Linked DNA regions of Homo sapiens: all the other regions are linked to region 5. Evidence: promoter capture Hi-C in 16 types of primary human blood cells and fetal thymus (Javierre and others, 2016). All regions are on one chromosome and are shown on one strand. Each heading gives the region's core, a stretch centred on a gene start or on the middle of the fragment in contact. The rest is flanking DNA. Distances are from core to core; before and after follow the strand shown. Region 1 holds the start of NPIPB15 (nuclear pore complex interacting protein family member B15). Region 2 overlaps GLG1 (golgi glycoprotein 1). Region 3 overlaps MLKL (mixed lineage kinase domain like pseudokinase). Region 4 overlaps RFWD3 (ring finger and WD repeat domain 3). Region 5 holds the start of TXNL4B (thioredoxin like 4B).

Region 1 (2,700 bases), core at 71-2,570, 2.3 Mb after region 5:
CCTTCCAAGGTGCCAGCTCTGGAACGAAGGATGCCTTTGGGAGGTGATGACACTCAGGTACACGGGTGCTCAACAGATTGCTTCCTCCTATCCTCAGATGGTCTTTGCATGCATGCAGCCATTGGCACTCCCATTGTACGCAAGGAAACCAGCCCAGGGTCACACAGCTGGTCAGCAGCAACACAGCTGGTCTCAAATCTAAGGTGCCTGGCCATGCCTCCATGAGGGACCGCCTGCAAGGGAGGTTGATCCTGGCTTTGGGGAGCCTTTCCTGGGCTGCACGAGTAACCTCCAATGTTTGAGGCCCCAAACTCTGCTCACATCTTCCTTTCCCTGTCTCTGCTTGGGCTATGATCACGGTGACTCTAGCAACCCTTCATGGACATTATAGTACTCTCTGCCATTCACTTTTGGTCTAATCTGACTTCAACCCCCACTTACTTGGTCTCTCCTTTTACAACCAACACAACCGAAATCCGAGGGCTTCTTTTTTTTTGAGACAGAGTCTCATTCCATTCTGTCACCCAGGCTGGAGTGCAATGGCACGATCTCGGCTCACTGCAACCTCCACCTCCTGGGTTCAAGGGATTGTCCTGCCTCAGCCTCCTGAGTAGCTGGGATTACAGGCGGGTGCCACCGTGCCTGGCTAATTTTTGTATTTTTAGTAGAGACGGGGTTTCACCATGTTGGTCAGGCTGATCTCGAACTCCTAACCTCGTGATCCGCCTGCCTCAGCCTCCCAAAGTGCTGGGATTACAGGCGTGAGCCACCATGCCCAGCCAAATCTAGGGCTGGAACATGGCTGCAGCATATAAATAGAATTGAATTCCATAGTTTTGTTAACCCTGTTTTTTGTTTGTTTGTAGTTGTTGCTGTTTTTGAGACTGAGTCTCGCTCTGTCGCCTAGGCTGGAGTGCAGTGGTGCAATCTCGGCTCACTGCAGACTCTGCCTCCCGGGTTCAAACTATTCTCCTGCCTCAGCCTCCCAAGTAGGTGGGACTAAGGCGCCCACCACCACACCCGGCTAATTTTTGTATTTTATTAGAGACAGGGTTTCACCATATTGGCCAGGCTGGTCTGGAACTCCTGACCTTGTGATCCACCCACCTCGGCCTCCCAAAGTGCTGGGATTACAGGCGTGAGCCACCACACCCAGCCCCTGTTTTGTTTTTGTTTTGCTTGTTTCTTAGGGTTGTTTTTCTATTTATGGTAAAGGCATTGGCTTTCCATTTGTAGCATCAATAGAATATTTCCTGTTTACAATAACCTTATGTCATAGTAAATGGTAAAGGGATTTAAAGCAGTGGTTTTCAGCTGCCAGAGGCCTGAGTGAGTTTGGGCACACTCTGTGTGATCGGGCAGAAGGCCTGTGGGAAGTTCAGCTGAGGACAGGGCCAGGAAAGGTGATGGACAGTGGGGGTCTGTCCTGGTCACCAGACCCCTGGGTCCTGCCCACCTGCTTGGAGCTCCCCACCCATCACACATGATGCTGCCAAGCCCTCTGGGTATTGTGGGCAAATACCTTAGGAGAGAAGCTGATGAACTTTGTTTCTTGAAATGCACAGATTCCTTGGACGTCCCTGAGAGGTCAATGATGAAGGTCAACTTGGTTTTCTCCCCCTCATTTGGGTTCAGAATTTAAAGTCCACACACACAGGCAGTAAGATGATTATAGATAAGGACATCATCACTCGGTTTCAGATGTTAAAATGTCTAGGTGGGTTAGGGGTGATTTGAGATCACACAACCTTGTGCCACAAAGAGGAATTCCCAGGCCAGGGGGAGACATTTTATTGCCATGTTATGATCTCATCATTGAGTTGAAAGGCAATCTTGTTTCATTTTGGATTCTTTCTTATGTTTATGTCTTATAAGGGCACTTTGAATTTCCAAGCAAATAATAATTTTGAATTAGCTTTTAATCATTGACTTCTAGCACAGTTATATGATCAGAAACATGCTGTGTGATTTGATTGCTCTCAAATATATTGAGATTTGCTGGAACAAAATAAGTCAGGTTAATTTTTGTAAATGTACCATGCATGCTTAAAATGAATGTATCTACATTTGTTCCTGAGATACAGGTTGATGGACGGATGGCTACATGGATGTGATGGAGATGGTTTACTATCGGGACCTTCCGCATCCTGCTGATGTTTTGTTGCTTAGGATATGAATGGCTGAGCGGAGGCTGTAAAACCTGGCACTCTGCTTGGGTATGAAGTTCTTCCTGCCATCCTGCCATCATTTGTTTTTTATGTTTTGTCGCCAAAAGTGACCTTGAGGAACCCTGGGAGCTCAGGAAGGAAGGAGAGCCCAGAAGCAGGGACAGGGAGCTGGTTGGGGAGGACCAGAAATCAGGTTTGTGAAGGTTCCAGAGAGGACCTGTCCTTGCGAGGAGTGTGGGAGACTGAGATGGGGGAGGGGTCATTGGAATGATGCGGGCGCTACTTGGCATTGTCCATTGTGAGGCACCACCGGGGTCATCAGGGATTGGTGGAGAGGGAGTATAAAGCCCCAGGGTTGCTAAGGGAGGGCCCAGACCGAAGAAGGTTTGGTGGATAGCAGAACCTTTTTGTCTCCCTCTAATTGCTCCTAAGCCTCACGCTCCCTTGCCCCACGTGTCCTGTTGCTTCCCTGATCTTCTCCGTGACCTGTAGCTAAACCTTCCACCAGCGCTTGAGAACTTAATTTGAACCG
Region 2 (2,700 bases), core at 108-2,607, 2.5 Mb after region 5:
GGTGGGAACAGTTGAAGCTGGGTGATGTATACCCAGGGACTCATTACCCTATTCTCTCTACTTCTGTGTAAGAAAATCTATGGGGCACGCACAATGGCTCATGCCTGTAATCCAGCAGTTTGGGAGGCCGACGCAGGCAGATCACCTAAGGTGAGGAGTTCAAGACCAGCCTGGCCAAGGTGATGAAGAGGCTGAGACAGGAGAATCACTTGAACCCAGAAGGCAGAGGTTGCAGTGAGCCAAGATTGTGCCACTGCACTCCAGCCTGAGCAACAGGGCAAGACTTCGTCTCAAACAACAACAACAACAACAACAGCAGCAGCAGCAGCAGCAGCCAGGCGCAATAGCTCATGACTGTAATCCCAGCACTTTGGGAGACCAAGGTGGGCAGATCATGAGGTCAGGAGATCAAGACTATCCTGGCCAACATGGTGAAACTCTGTCTCTACTAAAAATACAAAAATTAGCTGGGCGAGGTGGTGCGTGCCTGTAATCCCAGCTACTTGGGACGCTGAGGCAGAAGAACTGCTTGAACCAGGGAGTCAGAGGTTGCAGTGAGCCGAGATCACACCACTGCACTCCAGCCTGGCAACAGAATAAGACTCCGTCTCAAAAAAAAAAAAAAAAGAAAATCTAATCTATGAACATCACAAACTTTTTATTAGAGACGGTGTCTCACTATGTTGCCAGGCTGGTACTGAACTCCTAGCTCAAGCAATCCTCCTGCCTCAGCCTCCCAAAGGGCTAGGATTTCAAGTGTGAGCCACTGCGCCCGGCTGAACACCACAAACTTCTAAGGAACCAAGGTCTCCATCTGAAACTTCGAAATACAAGACACTAGTGGAAAAAAAAAAAGTGCTACTGGCCATTTCAACCAAGAATAAGTAAAGTATTTTAAAATGACTGACAACATCAAGCATGCCTTCCTTATCACATACTAAGCAACAGTATCTTCTCTTTCTTTGGTATTATTACTCCACCTACTAGAACAGCCCAGGGAATATTTTTTCTTTTCTGCCTTACACTTTCTAATTTTTTGTTTTTATTTAAATAACTTGAACTACTAATAATTATACACACACAACTAGGACTACTAACACACCATTACTGGCTATTACATCTATTATTTCATAGTGGACCCATGATATACTTGGCCTTTTTAAAAGCATGACTCATCCGAGAGCGTTAAAAAAAAAAAAAAAGAATCCCAAGGCCAGGCACAGTGGCTCACAACTCTAATCCCAGCACTTTGGAAAGCCCAGCTGGGAAGATCACTTGAACCCGGAATGTGGAGGCTTCAGTGAACTCTCAAACCCAGAAGACTGAGGCTGCAGTGAGCTATGACTGCACCACTGCACTCCAGCCTGGATGACAGAGCGAGACCCTGTCTCCATAATAAAAAATTTTTTTTCAGAAAGAAAAGTTCCATAAGGTTCCAAAAAGCAAAAGTTAAGTTTGACATATGCCAAGTACTACAGTGAATCCACATGAATGAACTGATATGTAGGCACTGTACTAGGTATCACAAGTATTTTAGAGAAGACAAGAATTCGGAAGGGTGTGCACAGATGATATGGAAATACGACACCATTTTATACGGTATAAGGTACTTGAGCGTCCTTGGATTTCAATATCTGCAGGAGGCCTGGAACCATCCTCCAGTGATACCAAGGAACAACTGTACTCATATGCTCTGCCTTTTCATAATTCCAATAATGGGTACGGATAGGAAAATGTTCCCTGCATTTGCATGCAAAGGGACAGAAAAGTACATATATCTATTTCACTATCAAATAGTTCTACTTACTGAACAGCAAATACAAAACATATTCTATACATGTTTCTTCAAATGTGCCTAACTAGTTTACTTCTTTAAGTTATGCTCTTTCAAACACATAGATCAGATTTAATTAACTCCCAGACTAAGCAGAATGAAATTTCCTTTCGCTGTCTTTAAAGAAAAAGAAAATAGGGTGGGGGTGGTGGCTCACACCACTAATCTCAGCACTTTGGGAGCCCGAGGCTGGCAGATCACAAGGTCAGGAGATCGAGACCATCCTGGCCAACATGGTGAAACCCTGTCTCTACTAAAAATACAAAAATTAGCTGGGCGTGGTGGCGCTCGCCTGTAGTCCCAGGTACTCAGGTGGCTGAGGCAGAATTGCTTAAAGCCGGGAGGTGGAGGTTGCAGTGAGCCAAGTTCAAGCCACTGCACTCCAGCCTGGCGACAGAGTGAGACTCCATCTCAAAAAAAAGAAAAGAAGTTTAAAAATAACTCCACCTCCTGAAGAATACACATAGGTGTTCACAGTACTCTTCCTTCATTATTTCTGTATGTAAAAACTGGAGGAAAAAACATTAAATTGGAAATTTGGTCCCTCCACCTCCCCCCAACCCCCCAAAACCCCCATTTCCAATTTATATGACGCCTTTCCTCCTCTGGAGCATAAAACTGCCTCCTTTAAGTGGAGGTTTCCAAATGTCCGGAATACACATGAAGGATATATACACTCCTTGAATAGGCCACTTTTTGCCACTTTCCCTAATAATGTGCTGTTTCTACCACAAACTACTACTAATTGTTTGGTCACCAGTATTAGGATCCTAGTTTGATGAAACGACATCTATTATGTGTCCTCAAAGAGCGAAAAGAAAATTCCAAAAAGTTCGACAGAGTTAGGAATATTAGCTGTATCTACC
Region 3 (2,700 bases), core at 160-2,659, 2.6 Mb after region 5:
TATATATGTACAAGCATGCCCACAAATTGTATAGGACATAGTTGTACTAAAAATAAATGTTTATCCAAAATTTGAGACTGGGTGCAGTGACTCATGCCTGTAATCCCAGCACTTTGGAAAGCTGAGGCAGGAGGATTGCTTGAGCCCAGTAGTTCGAGACCAGCCTAGGCAGCATGGCAAAACCTTATCTCTACAAAAAATATATATAAAAAAAAAACTGGCTGAGTGTAGTGGTGTGCGCCTGTAGTCCCAGCTTCTCAGGAGGCTAAGGTAGGAGAATCCCTTCAGCTCGGGAGGTTAAGTGATCTGTGATCATATCAGTGCACTCCAGTCTGGGCAAGAGAGTGAGACTCTGTCTCAAAACATAAAATAAAATTTGATATTTTTGATATTTAGTATAAGTATATACCATGCAATGTTTAGGATGCACTTATACTAAAAAATGATTCATTACTTTCCTAACGTTCAAATTTAACTGGATATGTTCATTTTTATGCTAAATCTGTCCACTCCAAAATTAGGGCTCATCCAACTCTATAAGTGCAGTGTGGACATCAATTTCAACCGTCAGTTCTGGGAGCTGGTGTTCCCTGGGTTAAGCCTCTTTCCTCCCTCCTATCTGTAATCAGAGTAAATAGTAAAACAGTGTATGGGAGGGAGACTGTCTGGGGCGTCTGGCCTGTTCTCTCACCATCTCTGGGAGTATCAGGAGTGTGGACAGACCCATCCAACCCTTAGTGGCGCCTTTTCACCCCGTCTTACCGGTATAGGCCTCGGGCTGCCCCCAGGACTAGGACCATGCGCTTGCCAAGTGTGAGGTCTTTTTCCCTATCCAACAGCTCCCTCAGGGTCCCGAGTTCACAGTACTCCATGACAATGGAGAATTGAGGCGGAGTCACTGGTGGAAAGGAGCCAGACACTATGAGGACCCGCCCTACTTGAAGCTTCCCATGTCTGCAGCCCACCTCTCCCAGCCTCGGTACAGATACAGACTTGGCTCTGCTGAGTCCCATTTCTCCCCCAATCCTCAGCCCACAGTTTTGGTCCCCGGCCTCCTTGAATGGACCAAATATGCCCAGAATTCCCATCCTCTTCTCCATAATACTTGGCTTGTCGTAATTCTACCTTAAAAAAAAAATTGGCTGGGTGCGTTGGCTCATGCCTGTAATCCCAGCACTTTGGGAGACCAATGTGGGTGGAACACAAGGTCAGGAGTTTGAGATCAGCCTGGCCTACGTGGTGAAACCATGTCTCTACTAAAAATACAAAAATTAGCTGGGTGTGGTGGCAGGTGCGTGTAATCCCATCTACTTGGGAGGCTGAGGCAGGAGAATCACTTGAAGCTGCGTGGCAGAGATTGCACCACTGCACTCCAGCCTGGGCAACAGAGTGACACTACATCTCAAAAAAAAAAAAAAAATGTTCTGCCAGGTGTGGTGACTCACGCCTGTAATCCTGGCTCTTTGGGAGGCTGAGGCTGGTGGATCACTTGAGGCCAGGAGTTCGAGACCAGCCTGGCCAACATGATGAAACCTCGTCTCTATGAAAAATGCAAAAATTAGCCAGGTGTGGTGGGACATGCCTGTAGTCCCAGCTATTAGGGAGGCTGAGGCAGGAGAATTGCTTGAACCTCGGAGGTGGAAGCTGCAGTAAGCATATTGTACCACCGCACTCCAGCCTGAGTGACAGAATGAGACTCTGTCTCAAAAAAAAAAAAAAAAAATTCTTTTTCTTTTTCTTTTTTAACTTCTATCTCCCTTTCTTGGTATAATTCAAAATTTTCTTGAGCAGTTATTTGGCGAATGTCTTCCTCACTCAACTGGATTCCCAAGAAGGCAGGAAATGTGTCTGTCTTGTTCACATGGGTGCTCACAAGAAGCTTCGTACATCTGTGTGGGAGGAATGAGTAGGGCACACATGGCAGGGGCGGGTGAGGACTCAGACAAGAAGTCGACTTCCCCATTCATGGGCCTGAGCTGCAAAACTGACATGTGACTGAGCCAGGCACCTCAGCGGTCCCCAAGGAGAACAAACGTTGCTGAACATTTGTCTTTATTTTTTATTTTTTAATTTTTTTGAGACAGAGTCTAGCTCTGTCACCCAGGCTGGAGTGCAGTGGCATGATATTGGCTCACTGCAACCTCCGCCTCCCAGGTTCACGCAATTCTCCTGCCTCAGCCTCCCGAGTAGCTGGGACTACAGGCACCCACCACCACGCCCAGTTAATTTTTATATTTTTAGTAGAGACAGGGTTTTATCATGTTGGCCAGGCTGGTCTCAAACTCCTGACCTCAGGTGATCCACCTACCTTGGCCTCCCAAAGTGCTGGGATTACAGATGTGAGCCACCGTGCCTGGCCTACGTTTCCCTTTAGATTGGGATTCCACACTCTGAAATCAAGTTGGCCTGAGGCTGTGGAGCAACTTCCAAAGGGGATAAGACAGGAGTTGCTCTGTCCAATCTCTAGGCAAGACGGCAGCAAAACATGACCAGCAGGAGGGGTCATTCCATGAGAGAAAATGCAGTCACATTGGGAAAAAAAGAAAAAAAAAAAAAAAAAAAGAGCCTGTCACATAAGGCTCTTGGTAGAGGGGTAAAGTAATGGTTTTTTTTTTTGTTTGTTTGAGACAGAGTCTCACTCTGTCACCCAGGCTGGAGTGCAGTGGCATGATCTCGGCTCACTGCAAACTCCGCCTCCCA
Region 4 (2,700 bases), core at 127-2,626, 2.6 Mb after region 5:
CATGTTTCTTAAAATCATCAAAGCAGATTAAACCACCTGAGGAACAGAATGACAGAAGAGGGCTGAAGACTAAAGTCAGAGACACTACTGTTAAAAGTACAACAGAGTAAAAGAAGCCAGTTAAGGAAGATTATAAAGTAGGAGGAAACATGGGAATGTGGTGTCTTGGAAAAACAATGTTTCAAGGAAGGAACAATTGAGTGTCAAGTGCTACTGGGGGGAAGAACGGCCGCTAGATTTGGCAACATGAGGATGACAGGTGACCTAAAAAAGCAGTTTCCCTGAAGTGGTGGGGTCAGAGGCCAGACTGGTGCAGGCTGAATAAATGGAAGGAATTCTAATAAACATAGTGGACGAAGTACATATATGTATCTTTCTCTCTCCACTCCAGTCATTCCTAAAACCCACGAACATGACCCCCACAACCTGAGACATTTTTTTAAGAAAGGATAAATTAACCAGGACGACACAAATGCAAACAGGGTATGATATGCAAACCAGTTTTTTAAGGCCATAAAGGAGAAACTGATGATTGATGACTGCTTAGCAGAGCCAAAAGATAAAACTCAAAGCCTGCAAAGGGCACAGTGGTTGGGGTGAGGTGTGTTATTGAGAAGCAAGCTGATTCCCACTAAAGGGACTGTAAAAACCAGGTACCACAAAAGGCAATATTGAAAGATGGCGCTAAAAGAGAAGGGCTGGTTAAAAGCCAGTAAAGCAGTTAGCTTGACTCCTACTCAAACACCAGCCAGCTAAAACAAAACACAGAACAAAGCCCTTCTCCCCCTATGCACGAGAAAACTGGAGGTTTGAACCACACAGGCTTACACTCAGGATGGAGAGTGGCACAGTACTGAAAATAAGTGGGAAAGAAAGTCTGCAAACTGAACAATGTGAGATACTTCAAGTTTTAAACATTTTTTGTATAGATGGGGTTTCCCACGTTGCCTAGGCTGGTCTTCAACTCCTCGGCTCAAGCAACCCTTCTGCCTCAGCCTCCCAAAGTGCTGGGATTACAGGAGTGAGCTACTGCAGCTGCCTAACTAAAAGCTTTTAATGTTTCTAGGGTACAACGACAGTCTCCCAAGAATTGTGTGTCAGAACATAAGGCCCAAGCTACTTCTAGATGTACTCAAGAGACATTAAGCAACTCAGCCTTCAGGAAGACAAAGGGGAGAAATGGACTAAAAAGAGCAGAATCTAGGGGGCCGCACTGTCTACTCCCATATGGTTATTTAAATTAAATAAAAATCAAATTCGGCCAGGAGCTGTGGCCCACGCCTATAATCCCAGCACTTTGGGAGACTGAGGCAGGTAGCTGGAGACCAGGAGTTGGAGACCAGCCTGGGCAACACGGCAAAACCCCGTCTCTACAAAAAATACAAAAAAATTAGCCAGCCGTGATGGTGTGCACCTGTGGTCCTAGCTACTTGGGAGGCTGAGGCAGGAGAACCCCTTGAACCCGGAGAGTGGAGGTTACATTGAGCCGAGATCACGCCACTGCACTCCAGACCGGGAGAGAGAGTAAGACTCCGTCTAAAAAAAGAAAAAAGAAAGAAATAAAATAAGTTCCTTTGTCGTGCAGGTCACATTTCAACTGCTAGAAACACACATAGGGCGGGTGACTCCCATACTGGACAGCAGAAATACAGAACACTTTTCTCGTCGCACAAAGTTCTATGGAACGGTGCAGTTCTGGAGCTGAAGCTTCCTAACCACTGTAGGCCAGTCGGAGGTGCCTAGAACGAGAGACCATGGGCTGGGCACCCCAAACCTTGAGGATGTCACACAAACGCTGTTTTTTATGTGTGCTGTGAGCGGTGCTTAAAATGTCAACCTCAGACTTGTCATCTTTGTTACTCAGGTTTCAATCAATGGCCACAACAGGCAGGACGAAAGCCCCTCAATTAAAGGTTGAGAAGAGGTGGGCGGGGGAAGTGTTCAAATCTTTGCTCTGGCCGGTGCAGAGGGTCACGCCTGTGATCCCTGGACACTGAAATGCCCAGGCGGATGGATCACTTACGCTCTGGTGTTCCAGACCAGCTTGGGCAACACAGTGAAATTCCCATCTCTACCAAAAAAGAAAAATAGAACAGGTCAGGCGCGGTGGCTCACACCTGTAATCCCAGCACTTTGGGAAGCCGAGGGCAGACCACTTGAGGTCGGAGTCCCAGAATGGCCAATATGGTGAAACCCCGTCTCCACTAAAAATACAAAAACTACCCGGGTGTGGTGGCGCATGCCTGTAATCCCAGCTACTTGGGAGGCTGAGGCAGGAGAATCGCTTGAACCCGGGAGGCAGAGGTTGCAGTGAGCCGAGATCGCACCACTGCACTCCAGCAGGGGCAACAAAGCGAGACTCTATCTCAAAAAAAGAAAGAAAAAAGAAAAATAAAACAATGAGCCGGGCGTGGTGGCGCGCACCTGTGGTCCCAGCTATTGCGGGAAGCCGAGGTGGGAGGATCCCTGGGGCCCGGGAGTTCGAGACTGCAGTGAGCTCTTCCAGCCTGGGTGCAACAGGGAGACTTTTCTTTCTTTCTTTCTTTCTTTTTTTGAGATGGAGTTTCACTCTTGTTGCCCAGGCTGGAGTGCAATGGCGTGATCTCAGCTCACTGCAACCTCGGCCTCCCGGGTTCAAGCGATTCTCCTGCCTCAGCCTCCCGAGTAGCTGGGAAATGGGGTTTCTCCATGTTGGTCAGG
Region 5 (2,700 bases), core at 21-2,520:
TTGCAGTGAGCTAGGATCGCTCCACTGCACTCCAGCCTGGGCAAGGCAACAAGAGCGAAGCTCCGTCTCCAAAAAAAAAAAAAGGAATTATTTAACTAAAATTCACATAGGAAATAAGATTGTTCCAGCTATAGGTCATACTTTAAACAGGGACATTGATGGCCCAAAGGGACGTCATCAGATGTGAGCAGCAGAACAAATTACCAATGAAAGGGAAGGTCAAAGAGAAGACGGATCTGTCCCACTAGAATTCAAACAAACAGCAGTTCCTCCGTGTTACTGATCGAAAGGAGAAAGTAAGGGGAGAACAAAGTTGTTAGTGGTGAGGCTAGGGGTGCAACTGGACAAACGTTGGAAGCAGGAGAGGAAAACTGAGACCACATCTAAGAAAATGTCCATAGTAAATGATACCCACAGAGAATTCCCAAAAGAAGACGTACAAATGGACAGTAAATAAACTAAAAAGTTAAGCTTTACCAGTAAGCAAAGAAAAGCAAATTAAAACATATGTTTACAAAGTCACTGAATTGGCAAAAATTAAACAAGATAGTGGTAGGGGCAGGCACAGGGAGTTCCTGCTGGAATGCAGACACAAAACCTTTCTGGAAAGAAAACTGACATACTCTTTGACCAATAACTCCACTGCTTTCCTCTCTCCCTCTCTTTTTCTGAGGCGGGGTTTCGCTATGTTGCCCAGGCTGGTCTCAACTCCCCAGGCTCAAGCAATCCTCCCGCCTCAGCCTCCCGAGTAGCTGGAACCTCAGGCGCGCGCCACAACTGCAGAAACACCAAAAAAAGAAAAAAAGCTTGAACTCACTTTTGTACAGAATCTTACTACAATGTATTCCAGAAAAACAACTGGAAATCAGTGGTCATCTCTGCGTGTGAACGCATGGGTGATTTTTATTTACAGCCGGGCGCGCATCTCCATTTTCCAAAATATCCGATATACATATTTAAAGTCACCTGTGTTGCGCTGCTCCTGGCCCACAAGCGCTAAGGGACCCCAGCACTTACCTTACTCGTCCACGCCGCCTCACTCCCTTTCACTTTGTGGCTGTCAGCAACCACTTCTCGGAAGAGCCCGGGCGCGGACAGCTCCTTTCATCAGCCCCAAGCCGGACAGGACCCTAAGACCAAGTCACCCAGGGGCTGTTGCCTAGCAACCCTCGTGGCCCCGCTAGCGGGAAGGAAACCGAACAGAAAACGCACAAGCGCAGAAAAGAAACTCCTGGCCGTCGGTCGGCCCCCGCTCAACAGCCCAATAAACGGAAGAGCTTCTAGTCACCGCCCACCTTGCTCGGCTCTGACCGGAAGCTAGGCGTCACCTCCGCCCGTATTAAAGATGGTCGACCTTTTTCCCCTCCTTTTCCTGCCCCCAGACTAGAGGCGGGATGTAGTCTCTTAGGCTAAGAGTGATTGGTCACAAGGAGACTCGGAAGTGTCTGATCAGAGCCCCAGAGGAGGCCTTGAGAGCCTGTTGGCGTACCGTTCCACACTTGGATCCAGGAATCGGGCGTGTTCCAGGCTGCTCTCTATGGTAGCTTTGGGCGGATAGAGGGGGCGCGCAAAGTATTAAGGGACAATAATGGCCGCTTTCAAGGTGTGGATTTTGGCTCCTTGAGCCTGTCTGAGCGAGGGGTGGCAGCGCCGGCGCCCCAGAATCCGGGACAGAAGGGTCCCAAGAGTCGCGCTTGGTGAGGTGAGAGTCCCTTCTTCCTTCCTGGCCTGCCCTTCTGTAATCATGGCGGCTCTAGGCGGCGGATATTGGTCCCCTGCTCAGGTCCGGGCCCCAGTTTGGGGAGTTCCTCTGTCGTCCCTGTCACCCACCTTGCCTTACTCACCTCAGGGATGCTGCATCCGTCCTGGCCGCCTTGGCCTTCCTCCTTGCTCTGGTCAAATCCTGCTGCCTGGAGCGGCCTCGCTGAGATCCAGGGATGCTGCCTGGAGTGGCCTTGGTCCCTCTCCCAGGCCTCCGCTTTAACCCACCCCAGACTGTCACCGAGCCCGAGTAGGACTCCTTGTGTCTTCCTCTGCTCTCTCACAGTGTCATTTATACCAGGCAATCTGGTGGGCGATCTCTTCTACTAGAATGTCAGCTCCAGGTGGGCGGGGATTTTTGTCTTGTTCTCTGTTGCTATCGCCGAGAACAGCAATTGGCTCAGGGACACCCTCAGTGAATAATTGTTGAATGAATGAATCCAGGTTCTTTCTTCCCTGGCTTTCTCGTACGCCTTGTAGTTTCTTTGCCATTAATCCTTCTCAAGAATCTTGCTCTTTAGCTCCTTATTTGTTCGTCTCAGCAGCTAATGAAGTTCTCTCTGGCTGTCTCCTTGTCCTGTGTTGCTGGAATCTTCCCTTGCTGTCTCCAGAAATGTTTGGGTTCCTGTCCTCCTTTAATAAGTTTAAATTAATTCATTTTTTAATTTATCAAACGCTTATTTTGCTAGACATTGAGCTACAGCAGTCAACAACACATCCAGTGTTCTCTCAACTGCGTAGAATGGCAGTCCAGGGTACCTTTCCTAGTTTAGACAACTATTGAGTAGAGCCTGTATATCTTTACCTTCTTGTGTGGATTTCCTCACATGCGCACAGATGTCACCAATATGCAGCTTTCTTTTTTTCTGTTCTGCCTGATGGCATTTTCAAAATGTAACTCTTGTTTCTGCATTAATATTATGTGTCCAGTCTGTTTGG

The links. The method cuts DNA at HindIII sites, captures the fragments that hold promoters and counts their contacts. A CHiCAGO score of 5 or more calls a contact.
Region 1: the fragment with the promoter of NPIPB15 here is called in contact with the fragment with the promoter of TXNL4B in region 5 in 6 of 17 cell types (naive CD8 T cells, activated CD4 T cells, total CD8 T cells and 3 more); the score reaches 13.0 in naive CD8 T cells.
Region 2: a contact is called between a fragment that was not itself captured here and the fragment with the promoter of TXNL4B in region 5, in 1 of 17 cell types (fetal thymus). The highest score is 6.8, in fetal thymus.
Region 3: a contact is called between a fragment that was not itself captured here and the fragment with the promoter of TXNL4B in region 5, in 1 of 17 cell types (naive CD8 T cells). The highest score is 5.6, in naive CD8 T cells.
Region 4: a contact is called between a fragment that was not itself captured here and the fragment with the promoter of TXNL4B in region 5, in 1 of 17 cell types (total B cells). The highest score is 5.5, in total B cells.

The regions. Positions count from the first base shown.
Region 1 is chr16:74,374,986-74,377,685 of GRCh38, forward strand. NPIPB15 (nuclear pore complex interacting protein family member B15) reads left to right here and starts at 1,321. Exons shown (of 8, transcript NM_001306094.2): 1 at 1,321-2,361. The HindIII fragment of the contact is 9,807 bases long and covers 1-2,700 here.
Region 2 is chr16:74,602,798-74,605,497 of GRCh38, forward strand. The region is part of intron 1 of GLG1 (golgi glycoprotein 1); the gene reads right to left. Among named protein-coding and RNA genes, the nearest start is that of GLG1, 3.0 kb to the right of the region's middle. The HindIII fragment of the contact is 3,850 bases long and covers 1-2,700 here.
Region 3 is chr16:74,681,889-74,684,588 of GRCh38, forward strand. It overlaps MLKL (mixed lineage kinase domain like pseudokinase), which reads right to left. Exons shown (of 11, transcript NM_152649.4): 6 at 763-898. Among named protein-coding and RNA genes, the nearest start is that of RFWD3, 16 kb to the left of the region's middle. RefSeq lists a silencer at 179-377. The HindIII fragment of the contact is 935 bases long and covers 943-1,877 here.
Region 4 is chr16:74,663,210-74,665,909 of GRCh38, forward strand. All of the region lies in intron 1 of RFWD3 (ring finger and WD repeat domain 3), which reads right to left. Among named protein-coding and RNA genes, the nearest start is that of RFWD3, 2.3 kb to the right of the region's middle. The HindIII fragment of the contact is 657 bases long and covers 1,049-1,705 here.
Region 5 is chr16:72,092,350-72,095,049 of GRCh38, forward strand. TXNL4B (thioredoxin like 4B) reads right to left here and starts at 1,271. Exons shown (of 4, transcript NM_017853.3): 1 at 1,018-1,271. It overlaps DHX38 (DEAH-box helicase 38), which reads left to right and starts at 1,498. Exons shown (of 27, transcript NM_014003.4): 1 at 1,498-1,702. RefSeq lists enhancers at 1,044-1,373, 1,384-1,433, 1,494-1,793. The HindIII fragment of the contact is 4,501 bases long and covers 805-2,700 here.